Linked DNA regions of Homo sapiens: all the other regions are linked to region 2. The links are contacts of gene promoters, found by promoter capture Hi-C in human tissues and cell types (Jung and others, 2019). All regions are on one chromosome and are shown on one strand. The core of a region is centred on a gene start or on the middle of the fragment in contact, and the rest is flanking DNA. Distances in the headings are between cores, read along the strand shown.

Evidence for each region. Contacts are between HindIII fragments. The study calls those that stand out against the background at their distance.
Region 1: a contact is called between a fragment that was not itself captured here and the fragment with the promoter of AP2M1 in region 2, in 1 of the 25 tissues and cell types used here (hippocampus).
Region 3: a contact is called between a fragment that was not itself captured here and the fragment with the promoter of AP2M1 in region 2, in 1 of the 25 tissues and cell types used here (adrenal gland).

Annotation. Positions count from the first base shown.
Region 1 is chr3:184,117,534-184,121,407 of GRCh38, forward strand. It overlaps the pseudogene HSP90AA5P. Among named protein-coding and RNA genes, the nearest start is that of HTR3E-AS1, 14 kb to the left of the region's middle. The HindIII fragment of the contact is 9,466 bases long and covers 1-3,874 here.
Region 2 is chr3:184,172,899-184,176,565 of GRCh38, forward strand. It overlaps AP2M1 (adaptor related protein complex 2 subunit mu 1), which reads left to right and starts at 1,957. Exons shown (of 12, transcript NM_004068.4): 1 at 1,957-2,061. DVL3 (dishevelled segment polarity protein 3) reads left to right here. Exons shown (of 15, transcript NM_004423.4): 15 at 1-716. RefSeq lists enhancers at 2,005-2,074, 3,607-3,667 and a silencer at 2,285-2,334. The HindIII fragment of the contact is 8,082 bases long and covers 1,110-3,667 here.
Region 3 is chr3:184,223,278-184,227,087 of GRCh38, forward strand. No RefSeq gene overlaps it. Among named protein-coding and RNA genes, the nearest start is that of VWA5B2, 4.4 kb to the right of the region's middle. The HindIII fragment of the contact is 4,117 bases long and covers 382-3,810 here.

The DNA of each region.
Region 1 (3,874 bases), core at 26-2,525, 56 kb before region 2:
AAAGCTCAAGCCCGGTAAGACAACTCAACAATGGGCTACGTGGCAGCAAAGAAACACCTGGAGATAAACCCTGACCATTCATGATTGAAACCTTAAGGCAAAAGGCAGAGGCTGATAAGAACAACAAGTCAGTGAAGGATCTGGTCATCTTGCTTTACTAAACTGCACTCCCATCTCCTGGCTTCAGTATGGAAGACCCTCAGAGACATACTAACAAGATCTATAGGATGATCAAACTTGGTCTGGGTGTTGATGAATATGATCCTACTGCTAATGATATCAATGCCGCTATAACTAAAGAAATGCCGCCCCTCAGAGGAGGTGATGACACATCACGCATGGAAGAAGTAGGCGGCTCTGGCTGAGGAATGACTTGTACATGTGTTCAATACTCTATCTTCATTCTCTCTGATAATATATTTTCAGGATTATTTTAGTTATTTTTGTTAACATTTAAAAAGTCTGTATGGGGGCCGGGCGTGGTGGCTCACACCTGTAATCCCAGCACTTTGGGAGGCTGAGGCAGGTGGATCACCTGAGGTCAGGAGTTCGAGACCAGCCTGGCCAACATGGCGAAACCCAATCTCTACTAAAAAAAAACAAAATATTAGCCGGGTGTGGTGGTGTGCACCTGTAATCCCAGCTACTCAGGAGGCTGAGGCAGGAGAATCATGTGAACCCAGGAGGCGGAGGTTGCTGTGAGCTGAGATCACGCCATTGCACTCCAGCCCGGGAGAAAGTGGGAGACTCTGCCTTCAAAAAAAAAAAAAAAAAAGTCTGCATGGCATGACAATAACTATTTCAGGGGGAAGGTAAGGTTTCTTTCTACTTCTAAGTGATTTTGTGATACTTCTAAGTGATTTTGTGATACTTCAGGCACTAAAACAGAGCTAGCAATGCTTTTCTAGTTTCACATTGGCTTATTTTAACAGATTGGGGTAATGTGTGTTGTAAGATGTATGTAGGCTGGGTGCGGTGGCTCACGCCTGTAATCCCAGCACTTTGGGAGGACGAGGCGGGTGGATCACCTGAGGTCAGGAGTTCAAGACCAGCCTGGCCAACATGACAAAACCTCGTCTCTACTAAAAATACAAAAATTAGTTGGGTGCTATGGCAGGTGCCTGTAATCCCAGGTACTCGGGAGGCTGAGGCAGGGGAATTGCTTGAACCCAGGAAGTGGAGGTTGCAGTGAGCCAAGATCACGCCACTGTACTCTAGCCTGGGCAACAGAGAGAGACTCCACCTCAAAAAAAAAAAAAAAGAAAGAAAGAAAGAAAGAAAAGAAAAAAAAAAGATGTATGTAACCTAACATTAACTTTGTGATCTAAACTGTTTAAGCTATCAAGCCAGATTCCTTAGTAGGCCAAATCTTTGTCACTGAAGTTTTCTGAGAAATACCTTGATGTTTAGAGGAAAAGTATTTGTTGCATCTTCTAGGATCTACTTTTTAAACTTTTCATCCTGTAGTTGCCAATTCTGCATGTAATTGTCCTCTGGAAATATGTTAAACTGAAGCAACTTGATGGAAGGAACTCTCCACAGGACTTGTTTTCCAAAGGAAAATATTGTTTGCAGGAGCAAAATTATAAGCCTACCTAGGCATATTGTAAAGCTGTTCAGAAATAACCCAGAGCGAGGCTTGTGAATGGAACTGTAGTACCCAAGTCACATTCTGCTTAAAAAGGTTGTAACAAATACAGATGAGTTTAAAAGAAAAAAAAAAAAAAGGCAGAAATGCAACAGGCCCAGAATAATCAAAACAATCCTGGAGCAGAACACAGTTGGTAGACTCACACTTCCTCATTTCAAAACGTACTGCAGGCCAGGCGCGGTGGTTCATACCTGTAATCCCAGCACTTTGGGAGACCGAGGCGAGGGGATCGCCTGAGGTCAGGAGTTTGAGACCAGCCCGGCCAAAGTAGCAAAACCCCATCTCTACTAAAAATACAAAAATTAGCTGGACATGGTGGCGTGTGCCTGTAATCCCAGCTACTCGGGAGGCTGAGGAAGGAGAATCGCTTGAACCCAGGAGGTGGAGGTTGCAGTGAGCCGAGATCGTGGCACTGTACTTCAGCCTGAGAGACAGAGCAAGACTCCATCTTAAAAAAAAAAACTTACTACAAAGATATTGTAATCAAGATAGTGTGATACTGGCATAAGGAAAGACATATAGGTCAACGAAATTCGAATGGAGAGTTCATAAATAAACCCTAACATTTACGGTCAATTTATTTTCTACAAAGGGAACAAAATAATTCAATGATAAAAAGAATAGTTTTTTTCAGCAAATGGTGCTTAGACAACTGGATATCCACATGCAAAAGAATGTCTTTGGACCCCTACCCCTCACACCATACACAAAAATCAACTCAAAATGGATCACAGTCCTAAACATAGGAGCTAAATGTTTTCTTAGAAGAAAACATAGCAGTTAATCTTCACGATCTTGGGGTGGGCTATGATTTCTTATATATGACTATTATAAGCACAAACGATAAAAAAGAAAGATAGATAAGCCTGGGCGCGGTAGCTCATGCCTATAATCCAAGCACTTTGGGAGGTCTAGGCAGGCGGATCACCTGAGGTCAGGAGTTTGAGGCCAGCCTGACCAACATGGAGAAACCCTGTCTCTACTAAAAATACAAAATTAGCCGGGCGTGGTGGCGCATGCCTGTAATCCCAGCTACTTGGAAGGCTGAGGCAGGAGAATCACTTGAATCCGGGAGGCGGAGGTTGTGGTGAGCTGAGATCACACCATTGCAATCTACCCTGGGCAACAAGAGGGAAACTCTATCCCAAAAAAAGAAGAAGAAGAAAGGAAGGAAGGAAGGAGGGAGGGAGAGAAGGAAGGAGGGAGGGAGGGAGTGAGGGAAGGAAGGAAGGAAGGAAGGAAGGAAGGAAGGAAGGAAGGAAGGAAGGAAAGAAGAGCAAGGAAGGAAGGAAGGAAGGAGAAATTGGACTTTATCAAAATTTAAAACTATCATGCTTTAAATAAACCATCAAGAAAGTGAAAAAAGAACCCACAGGCTGGGAGACAATATTTGAAGGTCATATATCTGATACAGGATATGTACCCTGAATACATAAAGAGCTCTTACACCTGAACAATAAATAAACAAATAATCAACGAAAAAGAGCAAAGAATTTGAATAGTCATTTCTCCAAAGAAGATACACAAATGGCCAGTAAGCACATGAAGGCCGGGTACAGTGGCTCATGCCTGTAATCCAGCTCTTTGAGAGGCTGAGGTGGGCTAATTACATGAGGTCGGGAATTCGAGACCAGCCTGGCCAAAAAACCCCATCCCTATTTAAGAAAAGAAAAGAAAAAAAAAACAGCAGGCCAGGTTGGGTGGCCCACGCTATGGGAGGCCAAGATGGGTGGATCACCTGAGGTCAAGAGTTCGAGATCAGCCTGATCAATATGGTGAAACCTGGTCTCTACTAAAAATACAAAAATTAGCCAGGTGCGGTAGCGTGAGCCTGTAGTCCCAGTTACTCAGGAGGCTGAGACAGAAGAATTGCTTGAACCTGGGAGGCGGAGATTGCAGTGAGCCGAGATCACACCAGTGCACTCCAGCCTGGGCAACAGAATGAGACTCTGTCCAGACAAACAAACAAAAAAGCACATGAAAAGGTGCTTGACATCATCAGTCATTAGGGAAATGCAATACACTTTACCCTCCTGAGGATGGATGTTTTTTGTTGTTTTGGTTTTGGTTTTTGCTTTTGTTTTCAGACAGAGTTTCACTCTTGTTGCCCAGGCTGGAGTGCCATGGCGCGATCTTGGCTCACCGCAACCCTCGCCTCCCGGGTTCAAGTAATTCTCCTGCCTCAGCCTTCCGAGTAGCTGGGATTACAGGGATGCACCACCA
Region 2 (3,667 bases), core at 707-3,206:
CTGACTCTGTCTTGTCCGACTCTCTTGAGAATTTCTCAACGATTGCTCATGCCTGTCAGTATCAGTGCTTCCATCGTTCCATCTTTGATTCACTTCTCTTTCCTTTCTATTTACTCCCAAAATGGAGTCATTCATCCTGATGTCCTCAATTGCTGCTGATATGCTGGTGATTCCCAAATACATAGCTCCAACCCCCAACTTCCCCCAGACTTTAGATCTGTATTGGTATTACCTACTGGACATCTCTATGGACAGTTCCGTATAGACTCAACTCATCTGCCCAACCAAGTATGTTCCTCCTGAATTCCTCTCCTGGTTACTTCATCACAATCTACATAGGCTCACCAGCTAGAAACATTTATGAGCTTACATTCCTTCTTCCCATATCTTATCAGCATATCATATCCATTTCACTCCAACACTCTGTCTTGAATTTGGCCCTCCCTCTCCCCTCTCTACTTTAATTCATTGGAGCATGGGATTTGGAGTTAGGTGGTTTTGGGTTTGAATTCCAGCTCTACTATTTTTGGTTGTGTGATAGAGTTATTTAACCTCTCTGAGCCTCAGTTCCCTCGTATGTAAAATGATGATAATAATACCTACCTCACAGGGTTGTTGTGAGGATTTAAATTAGATATTGTACGAAAAGTGCCTAGCACAGTGCCTGGCACACAGTAGAGTAGGTGCTCAATAAATGGTAGCTATTATTATTATTATTTTATCATTATTATTATTTACTCTAAATTGGTAGCAGTTTAGGGTATTTTTGGAAGATAAAGCTTTTGCAAAGGTAGAAGTGAAGCCTTGAGTGCTGGTTCAAAAATTAGAAGTGCCTGTATTCAGTCACTTAATGACTTCAGGCCGTGACTATGATGTGAGAGAGGTCAGATCTTCATCCTGCCACATCGTGGCTTCTGGCTGGAGGCTGGGAAGGACTGTAACATTTGCAACCAGATCTGTCCTTTCTTGCCCTTCCTTCCTCCCATGACAGGCGTAGTCCTGCCCAAGGAAGGCAGCAGTTTATCTCTGCCTACAGAAAGAGAAGAGCCAACAGATTTTCTTAAGACTCTGCAAGAACCAAGCAGGCCTTTCATGTGTGAGGGTTGGGTCTGTCTCCTCAGCTTGGATGTAAAGATTCTGTTTATCAAAGAGGGGATTTCAAATCCCATGTCAAACTAAATTCAACTCTTCGAACGTCTTCTAAGCAACATATATGCCTGTCACTAGAAGGCATACACAGTCGCATAGGTATAGCTAAGGAGAACATCGGCTCGTTCATGAAAAGCTGTAGCTGACCTCCGGGAAGAGTGTACAGTCATGGACTTATTTGTGAAAAGGTTTAGTTTCTTCCAAGTAGTCGCCTCCTTCCTCCCCGCTCCTCTCCTTGGGTCTTGATCCCTTGGAAAAAGCTCATGTCCGGAACAAATATATGAGAAAAGCTTGAGAGAATCAGAGGTAGTGTTAGAAAGCAGTAAATTCAGCACAAACACTTCTACTGCCCAGTTGTATTTATTTGTGTGTAAAGTGAGGACAGCCAGTCCTGGGACTCTGGAGACAGAAAAGGCCTACAGCAATCCAAGGCTTAACAGATGTGCTTCCACAAATGGCATTAATATCCCAAAGCTCTCCAGAACACAAATAGGAACAGGAGGAAGTGCAGGGACTACAATTCCCAGAGCGCTCAGTGAAAAAAAAAAAAAAAAAAAAAAAAAAAAAAAAAATGAGGCGGGTGGAGCGGTGTATGCTGGAATGTGTATTTCTGGTAGGGCCGACTAAGGCCACGCCTACCCCTTCCTGAGGCGGGGGCGGTTTCTCGAAGGCAGTCGGTAGTTGTAGTTTTGCTAAACCTAGAGCGCTTCAAATTGCAAGCAAGGAGGCCGCGAGGCCTGACGGGATTTGTAGTCGGCGCTAGACGCCGGCGCGCACGCGCAGCCGGGGCCGGGGCGGGGCGGCGGCACTGCGGTGAAAGCCGAGGCAGCGGGCAGACGAGCAGGGGGCGGGCGGACATCTTGGGATCCGGAGAGTGGCCGGGCCGGCAGAGCAGGGGGCCGAGGACACCAGGTGAGCCGGGGATCTGGCCTTATGGCGTGGAGGAGGACGCTGCGGGTCGTCTGCCTCGCCGCGCAGCTTTGTCCTGCCCTGCACTGAGCTGGCGGAAAGCTGCCCACACCCGGGAGTGGCTTCAGCCTTCGGACCCGGGAGCTAGCTGACGGTGGGGCGGGGGCGCCCGGGGCGCGATTGCAGGGCTGGCGGGGAGCGGTGCCCTCCACCTGACCCGCCTGGCGCCTCCCATGAGAGGGATACCGCTTGGAATCCTCCCAGAGCAGGAACGCTGCGCAGCGCCCCCTCCCTAGGATCGTGCCAACCCCCTACCCCTCCGCGCAAGGACAATTTCCCCGTCTCGTAGGACAGTGACACCCCTTTGTGCCGCCGCCTTGCACCGTGACAGGTCTCACGCCATGCGGCACCCCCTCCTCTTAGTTCAGTGGCACCCCGCGGCTCTTCTTCCTTAGACCTGTGACAGCCCCCGCACCCCCATGGCACCATCTTTTCCCACAATGTCCTCCCCAAGGCGAAAAGCCTACCACCCTCTCATTACTCTGCACCTGAACCCCAAGCAGGCTCTGTCTCCCCAGCTTTCCCTTATTCACCACTGTCAGTTCCCCCGGCCGGTTTTTCCTTCTTAAAGCCTTGACCTTTTCCATACTGGAAACCCTTACCTTTACGTTCACTCCACCAGCCCAGTTTGCTGCTGTGGGCTCACCTGAGGACGCTGCCTGGCTTTCACTGAAGGTCTTTCCCCTTAACTAAATGTTCCATTCTTGCCCAAGGCCCCCCTCTGGTTCTCGGGTGCCCTTCGCTACCTACCACTCGATACCTGTGGACTTGGTGCTTTGCCCCAGGCTCTACCTCCATTTTGCATCTCCTCTCCCAGCCTGTTTGGGACTGAGGGATGGGATGAGTCCACCACCTTGAGAGACCGCTCACCCCTCTGGAAGACCTTGACAGCCACAGGAAAAGGCTTTATTTTCCAGTTTAGAAAAGTCCTCTAAAGTACTCCCTGTGAAATTAATACCAGGGCTAATCCAGGAAATCTAAAACCAAATTAATGCCTTTTCTCAAACAGTCTAAATTAATTTGACCCAAATAATTTGGATAATTCAGGCATCCTGACATCCCTGCTTCTTGCTTATAGGCACCCAGGCCAGAAATGAGTTACTTCATGGGCCTGGAATCACGATTTCAGATGGAAGGATTTCTTAATTTTATGAGCCTGCGCCACCCCCACCCCCCAGTCCTTATTTTTATTGCATTCCAGAGCTTTTTGAAAGGGGGGTGGTAATCAGAAATAACTGTAATAAGCAGCTTGGGTGATGGAAGTGTAGTCTGCCAGCCCTAGGACCTTCCTCCTGTGCCCTTTGCCTGCTTATTCCACTGCCTGGAAGAGGTTAAGCCACACTCCCGGGTCCACATTAGGGCCTAAGGGCTCCCTTCTCTTCTCCTTATACCCTTTCCTGGAATGTTTGAATTCTGTGAATTAGAGTGCCGGAAGTTCAGGCCCTGCGACCTTCTCTGAAGGGTAGTGGAGCCCAAGAGACTGGATGCTCTAAAGGTTATGCCTGGGGGCCCCAGGCCTGAACCAACTGGAGTAATGCCTACCGCCATT
Region 3 (3,810 bases), core at 1,190-3,689, 51 kb after region 2:
TAGAGAGTGACTGCTTAATGGATACAAGGCTTCCTTTTGGGGTGAGAAAAATGTTCTGGAGCTAGATAGAGGTGAATGAGTGCACAATATTGTGAATGGAGCCAGGAGGGGTGGCTCACACCTGTAATCCCAGCACTTTGGGAGGCCGAAGCAGGCAGGTTGCCTGAGCTCAGGTGTTTGAGACCAGCCTGGCTAACATGGTGAAACCCCATTTCTAATAAAAATACAAAATTAGCCAGGTGTGGTGGTGGGCGCCTGTAATCCCAGCTACTTGGGAGGCTGAGGCTGGAGAATTGCTTGAACCCAGGAGGCAGAGGTTACAGTGAGCCCGGAAGGCTCCATTGCACTCCAGCCTGGGCCACAGAGACTCCATTTCCAAAAAAAAAAAAAAAAAATCAATCAATCACTATTGCAAATGTGCTAAATATCACTAATGGCAAATTTTATGTTATGTATATTTTACCACAATAAAAAATAGTGCATTTTACTACATGTAAATTATACCTCAATAAAACTGATGTAAAATATTATTTAGGTAATTAATGGATGCTAAAACTGGTGGGTGAAACTTTGATGACGATTGGAATAGTTACATACAATCAAATTGTCTCCCTACAAATGTACTTATTTAATTATGAAAAGAAAAATAGTAGCATTATAGTGGAGAAATCTGGCAAGCAACACCCGTGATGGTTAATTTTATGTGTCAACTTGAAGTGTTTTTGAATGAGATTAACACTGAAATTGGTGAATTTTGAGTAAGCACATTGCCCTCCAGAATATGGGTGGGTGTATGAGTCACAGTTCTCCAGACAGACAGAACCAATAGGGGATAGATGATGGATGAATGGTTGGATGGATGGATGGATGGATGGATGGATGGATGGACAGACAGATAAATAGATAAATGGATGAGAGGGGATTTATTAGGCGAATTAGCTCACATGACTATGGATGCTGAGAAATCCCACAACCAGCCCTCTGCAAGCTGGAGACCCTGGGATGTGGCAGTCCAAGTCCAAGTCCAAATCCAAAGGCCTAGAGCCAGGGAAGCCAATGGCGTAACTCTCAGTTTGAGGCCATCGACAACCTGAGAACCTGGGAGGCCTCTGGTATAAGTCTCAAGGCCAGAGAGCCTAGAGTTCTGATGTCCAAGGGCAGGAAAAGGAGTGTCCCAGCTCCAGGAGAAGGAGACAGAGGAAATTCTTTTCTCTCCTTTTTTGTTCTATGTGGGCCACCAGCAGATTGGATGGTGCCCTCCCACAATGAGGGCAGATCTTCCCTACTCAGTCCACTTACTCACATGCCAATCTCTTCTAGAAACACCCTCACAGATGCACCCGAAGGAATGTTTTACCGCTTCTCTAGTCTTCTTTTTTTTTTCCAGACTATAGTCAGGCTTCTTTTTTTTTTTGAGTTGGAGTTTCATTCTGTCACCCAGGCTGGAGTGCAGTGGCGTGATCTCAGCTCACAGCAACCTCCGCCTCCCAGACTCAAGCAATTCTCCCACCTCAGCTGGGATTACAGTTGTCCACCACCACACCTGGCTAATTTTTGCATTTTTAATAGAGACAGGGTTTTGCCATGTTTGCCAGGCTGGTCTCAAACTCCTGACCTCAGGTGATCTGCCCACCTCGGCCTCCCAAAGTGCTGGGATTATAGACGTGAGCCACCGCGCCTGGCCCCGGCTTCTGAATAGGTCTTCCTTAATTTAGTCAAGCTAAGACCCAGAGTTAACCTTCACAATGTTCCTCATCTAATCACTTGAGGCCTGAACAGAACAAAAAGATGGACCTCCATGAGAAAGAGGAAATTCTCCAGCAGGCTGCCTCCAAATTTCATCTGCACCATCCGGTCTCCAGGGTCTTTAGCCCGCCAGCCCGCACTGGACTTGCCTGTACAAGCACACGAGCCAATTCCTTATTTTATATATACGTATTCTCTCTCTCTCTCTCTCTCTCTCTCTCTCAATCTCTGTTGGTTCTGTTTTCTCTGGAGAACCCTAACACACCACCTTATTGAAAGGATCAAAGTTAAAATCGCCAGTAACTGTAACTGACATGTACATCCTCCCAATGAGATATAGTGAGAAGGGTACAACGTCACTTATGTGGTGTTCCTATGGGAAGTGCATATCCTGAATCTAATTATGAGGAAACAACAGACAAACTCAAACTGACGGACATTCTACAAAACAACTGGCCAGTACTCTTCAAATGTGTCAGTATCACAAAAGACAAAAAGGAGAAACTACTCCCAGTAGAAGACTCTTAAAGGCTGGGAGCAGTGGCTCACACCTATAATCCCAACACTTTGGGAGGCTGAGGCAGGCAGATCACTTGAGGTCAGGAGTTTGAGACCAGCCTGACCAACTTGGTGAAACCCCATCTCTACTAAAAATACAAAAATTAGCTGGGCATGGTGGTGGGTGCCTGTATTCTCAGCTACTCGGGAGGCTGAGGCAGGAGAATCGCTTGAACTGGGAGGTGGAGGTCACAGTGAGCTGAGATTGCACACGCACCACTGCACTCTAGCCTGGACTACGGAGTGAGATTCCATCTCAAAAAATAAAAATAAAAACAAAAACACAAAAATTAGCCAGGCATTCTGGCGTGCACATGTAGTCCCAGCTACTCTGGAGGTTGAGGCATGAGAATCACTTGAACCCGGGAGGCGGAGGTTGCAGTGAGCTGAGATTGAGCCATTGCACTCCAGCCTAGGCAAAACAGTGAGACTGTGTTTCAAAACAAACAAACAAACAAACAAATAAAAAAAACTACCCCCCCCCACACCAACTGGCTGGGCATGGTGGCTCACACCTGTAACCCCAGTACTTTGGGAAGCCAAGGAGGAAGGATCCTTTGAGCTCAAGAGTTCAAGACTGCAGTGAGCTATGATTGTGCCACTCCACTCCAGCCTGGGTGACAGAGTGAGACCCTGTCTCTGAAAAAAAAAAAAAAAAGAAAAGAAAAGACAAACCGAAGTGTTTAGGGGTAAAGAGGTCGGATGTGTAAAACTTAATTTGAAATGGTTCAGAAAAAAATGCTTTATTTGCAACTTTTGTAGAAGTTTTGAAGTTATTTTGAAATACAAAATTTAAAAATTAATTGTTTAATTGACGTCTTTCGTGAGGGGAGGGGCTACCACTGTCTTGTTTTCTGCTGTAGTTCCAGCTCTAGCACACCGCAGGCTTCAACAAGAAATATTTCTTGAGTGAACAAATGAATTAATGAACTAAACCATCTTCCAATTTGGGTTTCAGGCAGGGGCTGGGATTTTGGAAGTCAAGCTTTAGACAGCAAGAGGCAAAATTCCTCTTTTTCTCTAGGTATATCTCTTCTGGAGCTCCAATCTGAGAGGGTAGATCATCTATAGTTTGGGGAAATAAGACCTCTGCCCTCCAAAGGCCGACAGGCAGCCCACAAGCAGGAGATAATTGAGTTGTGCTTTGCAACAAGAAGACCTGGCTGAGTGCCATTTTCTAAGTCAGTTCCCTAAGGTTCACCCTATTCCCCACATCACCACCACCCTTGGTTAAGATTTGTTTTTTAATTTTTAATTGTTATGGAGATAGGGTCTCCCTATGTTGTCCAGGCTGGTCTCAAACTCCTGGCCTCAAGGGATTCTCCTGCCTTAGGCTCCTGAAGTGCTGGCATTACAGGTGTGAGCCACCGCCAGCCAGTTAAAAGCTTTTATAATATCCATTACTATTACTCTTGTAATGCAGCACTTATCTCAAGCTACTGTAACTGTATATTTGTCTGCCCTTTTCACTAAAGTGTGAGACTCTCCTAGGCAGAAGCTAAGTCT